2 separate regions of the Homo sapiens genome follow, and region 1 is linked to region 2. The links are contacts of gene promoters, found by promoter capture Hi-C in blood cells and fetal thymus (Javierre and others, 2016). All regions are on one chromosome and are shown on one strand. The core of a region is centred on a gene start or on the middle of the fragment in contact, and the rest is flanking DNA. Distances in the headings are between cores, read along the strand shown.

Region 1 (2,926 bases), core at 122-2,621, 2.5 Mb before region 2:
TAAACACACCAGGACTTAGATCGAAAAACACATTTAATGGCATTTTTCATAACTATTTAGCTTCCTCTTTCACACTAAAAGGTAAATACTATCCTACAAAATTCTGAATACAAAGAGCAAAAGAAACAAATCACACTGATCTAACCTAAAAGTGTGAATTTTAAAATATTTAGTTGTCACTCATATTTACTATTAAAACAGATGCTTTTATTTACAGTGGCCAAAACAGACTTCTCATTTTCAACTTATACCTGCAATGTTTATGTAGCTGGAAAAATGAAAACGAAATGTGGCTAAAAGAAAAGAAAACGAAAGAAAGCCACAAAATTCCCAAAACCTCAGCATAACTTGCTTCTTTCTTCACTCGCTCTCATTAAGTCTTAATTCTCCAGATTAGCTTTGTCTCAAATATTTCTCAAACTAGTAACCTATTTCTGGGTACAGTATATTTGGCGGGGTAAAAGAAACACTGTCAAGTTTTTCTAAAACGTCGGGTGCACGTTAAAATAATTCCTATCCACTCTAATACCAAAACGATATCAAAGGAAAGCATCCCATCTGGAGTAGTCCCATGAATCTAAATAGGACGAAGCAGCCTACCGCTATTGTCTAAATCAAGTATTTACTCGTATTCATGCCTAAGAGAGAGAAGTAAAAAAAAAAAAATTAAATCTTAGATCTTGCTCCCCATTCCCACCACTCTTCTATATACCCTGTCCCCCGGGTTCACTAGACCCAATTCCTTCCTCAGCCGAACATGTCTGGAGCAGTCGGAGGAACAGACGTGGAGAAGAGGTCGCCACGAGGCCCCACCACTCTCCTTCCTCACCTGCTCCGTGGCTCCGTCTCCTGACATGGCCTCAGCTGATTACAACGTGCGCACTGACCGTCGATGGGAAGCTAGAAAAGAAAAATTAAACTAAAAACCACCCCCAAATCAGTAAAGTTACCCCCTGCCCAGCTGAGCCAGACCGCCAACACCAATCGCCACCGCCCACTCAAATATGAATTAAAATGGCTGCGCCCCTGCCGGCCGAGGAGGAGGTGTGTGGCTTCCGCATTAACTTCCGGGGCAGTGGGCGGGGCTAATTTCGCGACTCTGGTTATTCCGAGCGTGCAGAAAGCAGCGAGATCCCGGGGCGGGCCCAATTCCTGGGCTGACGTCACTACCCTGGCTTGGAGAGGCTGTTGCTGAGCCGGCTCCAACCGGCTGGAAGGCGGGAAGCTGTTTCGCCTGGAGGCTCGCGCGCTTTTTGGAATTCAGTTATCAAGCTTTAGAGCCTGGCTACTCACAGTTGAAGCCTGATTGCAGGTCAGCAATGCTAAACGTTAAATGCCTCTTATATTTAGGGGATAAGGACTCCGTGGAGGTTTTCTCTGGTCCCAGCTCCTGCTTTTTACTTTTCTTGGGGGTGGGAGGGATAGATCAAGCCCCCATTAATTTTTACTGCCACCGTCGACTCTTGTGTAGAAAGCTTTGAAGTCTGAGACCTGGGTTTTCAGCTCAACATCTCAGCTTGGTTCCTTGACTGCAAAGTAGGTATAATTGTTTGTAGCCCAGACTGCTTGGATTTTAACGAAGATAAGTAACTCTGGTAATTAAACTTCGTACCTCAGCTTTCTGGCCTATAGATGGGAATAATAATAGTACCTGCAAGTGAAATAAATTATACATAGAAAAGTGTTAGAACAGTACCTGGCATTAAGATTAAATGAGATTGACTGGGCGCGGTGGCCCACGCCTGTAATCCCAGCAGTTTGGGAGGCCAAAACGGATGGATCATTTAAAGTCAGGAGTTCTAGGCCAGGTGCGGTGGCTCACGCCTGTAATCGCAGCACTTTGGGAGGCTGAGGCGGGCGGATCACAAGGTCAGGAGATGAGACCATCCTGGCTAATACGGTAAAACCCCGTCTCTACTAAAAATACACACACACACAAAAAAAAATTAGCCGGGCGTGGTGGCGGGCGCCTGTAGTCCCAGCTACTCCGGATGCTGAGGCAGGAGACTGGCGTGAACCTGGGAGGCGGAGCTTGCAGTGAGCCGAGATCGCGCCACTGCACTCCAGCCTGGGCGGCAGAGCGAGACTCCGTCTCAGAAAATAAATAAATAAAGTCAGGAATTCAGGACCAACCTGGCCAACTTGGTGAAATCTCGTCTCTACCAAAAATACAAAAAAAGTAGCCGGGCGTGGTGGTTTGCGCCTGTAGTCCCAGTTACTCGGGAAGCTTAAGCAGGAGAATCGCTTGAACCCGCGAGGCGGAGGTTGCAGTGAGCCGAGATTCCAGCCTGGACTACAGAGCGAGACTCCGTCTCAAAAAAAATAAAAAATAAAAAATTAAATGATACTAAATCTTCTCAAACTGCTCTTCCATTTAAGCGTCATCGTTAGATGTCTGCAAGCATTTCTCGCCTACGGGGGTCCAATGCCCTAAAATAACCTAGTGAACTGTTCCCAGACTCGCCTTATTCTTTTAGGTCTCCTTTCCTCTGCTCAAACTTACACTTACTCCCTTTCCACAGGCTGAAATCTTACCCTTAAAATAATCAGACACATGAGCAAAAGATATGTATTAACAGATGTTCATTGCACCATCCAGCAATGGAGGACTGGTTAAAAATATCACAAGATTTATCTCTGCAATGGAATATCACACAGCAAACTGATGCTAATGTACGATGACTGACAGAAAGGCAACCACCGTATTAAATGAAGAAAAGCAGAATATGAAAGTGTTTTACGTATATATACTTACCACTTTAGCATCCTAATCTGAAAATCCAAAATCTGAAATACTCCAATGAGCATTTCCTTTGAGAGTCATGTCAGTGCTTAAAAAGTTAGATTTTGGAGCGTTTTGAGTTTTGGAACATTTAGGTTTTTTTTTTTTTTTCTCTTGAGGCAGAGTCTTGCTCTGTCGCCCAGG
Region 2 (3,255 bases), core at 66-2,565:
ACCTCATCCCCTGGTATGTTTGAGGAAAGCATCTGGAAATTCTAACTCAAAATCATCTAAGGGAATCAATGTAAAACAGACACCATTCCATCCCCTTTCATCCTTCTTAATACACCTCAGCCTCTCCCTTGACTAGATAAAAACGTAATTTTCCCTCTCCCAAATACAGTGCAAAACAAAAACTCTTCTGTGAATGGAGAGACATGGATATGGGGTAGAGGTGGAGACTTGCCTACATTACCAGCAGCCAGCCGAAAATGCCCTGTGTGTGTAAAATATGTTCCTTCAAAGGGGCATTGTGAGCACTAAATATAATTTGTGCCAAAAATAATAATGAAAGCTTAGTGAATACTCTACAGTGCAGGCATCGTTACATTTAATCCACAAAACTACCCCATGAGGTAGATATTTACCGTTCTTTTCACTTAACATCTTTTTTAAAAAGCGGAAAACAGAATGATGAATTAACTTGTCCATGGTCATAAAACTGATAGGTAGTGGCACCAGGATTTGGGGACCATCGGGCAGAGGATCTTCCAAAACCGGCTTTTAAAGAGCCACAAAAAGATGTAGCCGGGTTCTTGGCACTACAGTACTGCTTTATAAACAACAGTTCCCTTCTTTTCTCTTAGAGCCCAGTGGGAATCTAGAGGGACACCTTACATAAAGGAAAATGACTGCAACCTGGACCTGTCACTCGACAAATACTGCCTCTCCCCACCTCACTTCACCTGACGTCTCTGCCCAACCGAAGGCAGCTCTCAGAAAACCGCACAGAGGTTACCACCCCAGAAATTCTGAGATCCTAGGAGGTAGCAATGCAAATAGACAAAGCACAGTATTGCTTTGGATCGAAAATATTTGTTTGCTCATCCTAACTCCAATTCCCCTAGCCTAGAACAAACATAGCCCTTCCGCACTCAGGAAATCCCAAGAGGTCAGGTTCAGTCTGGTAAACAACACTGTCCGGGCACCTTGCAGAACACTGGGGACTGTGACGGGCGGCGACAAATTGGCACAAGAGAGACTGAAATGCACAGGGACACCAGCCTAGTGGCCGTGAAAACTCAAGTTGACACTTCCAGGGAGGGAATGGGGGAGGTGGAGCCCAATTCCTGCTTCTGGAGAGAGTAAGAGACTTCCTCCATCCTCCTTCTCCCTCCTCCTCCTCCAAGGCACGCTGAGATTTGGAGCGGAGGAGCTGAGCCCCGCGGGAAAAGCAGAAAAGGGTCATTGCCACTTTAAATGACTCAGGAAGTAAAAGGAGGCCTCCTGACGGGGAAAGGGAAAGTGGAACCGGGGCGGCGCGGGGGCCGGCGGCTGCCGCGATCTCTCCCTGGTAGCGGGAGGCTGAGCGGGCGGCGCGACGCGGGGGCCGACGGGGGCGCCGGGTGGCCGCGCCGGAAGTGCCTTGCGCGGCAGAGGAAGCGCAGGGACAGAGCGGAGCAGGCCGAGCCGGCGGAAAGGGTCTTTGCTGCTGCGCCCGGGCAGGGGCTGCCGCGGCCCCAGGTCCCGCTTCGAGACGCGGCGCGGTCCAGGCGGGAGGCGACTCCCTAGGAAGGGACCCGGGGCGGGAGGAGGAAGTGAGGCCGCGCGGAAGGAAGGCGGCGAGCCCCGGGGCCCCGAGGCCTTGGCCGCGTCACAGCACCCACATGGCCTCTGGAGTGGGCGCGGCCTTCGAGGAACTGCCTCACGACGGCACGTGTGACGAGTGCGAGCCCGACGAGGCTCCGGGGGCCGAGGAAGTGTGCCGAGAATGCGGCTTCTGCTACTGCCGCCGCCATGCCGAGGCGCACAGGCAGAAGTTCCTCAGTCACCATCTGGCCGAATACGTCCACGGCTCCCAGGCCTGGACCCCGCCAGCTGACGGAGAGGGGGCGGGGAAGGAAGAAGCGGAGGTCAAGGTGGAGCAGGAGAGGGAGATAGAAAGCGAGGCAGGGGAAGAGAGTGAGTCGGAGGAAGAGAGCGAGTCAGAGGAAGAGAGCGAGACAGAGGAAGAGAGTGAGGATGAGAGCGATGAGGAGAGTGAAGAAGACAGCGAGGAAGAAATGGAGGATGAGCAAGAAAGCGAGGCCGAAGAAGACAACCAAGAAGAAGGGGAATCCGAGGCGGAGGGAGAAACTGAGGCAGAAAGTGAATTTGACCCAGAAATAGAAATGGAAGCAGAGAGAGTGGCCAAGAGGAAGTGTCCGGACCATGGGCTTGATTTGAGTACCTATTGCCAGGAAGATAGGCAGCTCATCTGTGTCCTGTGTCCAGTCATTGGGGCTCACCAGGGCCACCAACTCTCCACCCTAGACGAAGCCTTTGAAGAATTAAGAGTAAGTATTGGGCCTTCAGAGCATAAACCTAGGGGTCAGGACACCTGGGTTTCAACTCAGGTGGCCTGGCTGTGACCACATTCGCTTTCACTGTGTCCCTAAGAAGCTAGTCTTTCCAACTTTTTGGGAGCAGTTCTTATTCACCGTTTTTGGTTGAACTCTTTTGAGAATCTGATGAAAGTTCTGGACTCTGACCTGAGAAAATACACACAAAATCTAGTATACAATTTCTAGAAAATTGCAAGTTTCTGGTCTGTGGATCCCAGGTAAAGCATTTCTTGGGAGTTTTGACCCCACTTAGGCCAATTTCCACAGCATCACTATTGTTGAAACTGGTGCTTTGTGCTAGGGCTCTTGATAAGGCAATCTTTTTGCCTACTTGAAAACATGGGAAATAGGATTTTGCCACATGAATCCAAGCAAGTGATACGTCTGCATTGAAAAGACTAACAAAATAGTTTTAATAGTAACTTCATATGTGCCCCGAGTTCATTTTAGATTCTTCGTGTTTGAAACTTAGTAGAAAAGGAGGGTAAGAAGATGGAGGCCAAATTGGGGTGGGAGTGGAAGTTCCCATGTCCTCTGTCTGGATCTTTGTCTGTCGTGGACCTTACTGGTCCCCCAGAACAGTGGACACTTCGGAAATATTTGTTGAATGAATGAATTTGCAGACGATGCACCTTTTATTCATATTGTGGATGTTTACTATCATTGAGAGAAACTGCTGGTGTTAATCGGGGAGGGAGGGGGAAATTTTGAGTGGAGTGATCAGTTCATTAAGTAATCTGTATTAGTGAACATTGTCATATTATGATGACTTTTGCTTCCCTGAATAGGGAATAGCTGGCATTGGGATAACAAATACCTTGAGAGTGAAGATCCTCTGTATTAGGTTTTCCCTTTTTTAGTGCCTATTTATAATTGTAAAATGCAC

Evidence for each region. The method cuts DNA at HindIII sites, captures the fragments that hold promoters and counts their contacts. A CHiCAGO score of 5 or more calls a contact.
Region 1: a fragment that was not itself captured here is called in contact with the fragment with the promoter of TRIM44 in region 2 in 1 of 17 cell types (naive B cells); the score reaches 6.0 in naive B cells.

What each region holds. Positions count from the first base shown.
Region 1 is chr11:33,160,470-33,163,395 of GRCh38, forward strand. It overlaps CSTF3 (cleavage stimulation factor subunit 3), which reads right to left and starts at 1,011. Exons shown (of 21, transcript NM_001326.3): 1 at 830-1,011. The coding sequence starts at 856. It overlaps CSTF3-DT (CSTF3 divergent transcript), which reads left to right and starts at 1,188. Exons shown (of 4, transcript NR_034027.1): 1 at 1,188-1,312. RefSeq lists enhancers at 1-240, 976-1,395. The HindIII fragment of the contact is 203 bases long and covers 1,271-1,473 here.
Region 2 is chr11:35,661,460-35,664,714 of GRCh38, forward strand. It overlaps TRIM44 (tripartite motif containing 44), which reads left to right and starts at 1,316. Exons shown (of 5, transcript NM_017583.6): 1 at 1,316-2,321. The coding sequence starts at 1,653. RefSeq lists enhancers at 973-1,292, 1,504-2,004 and a silencer at 1,333-1,712. The HindIII fragment of the contact is 12,326 bases long and covers 339-3,255 here.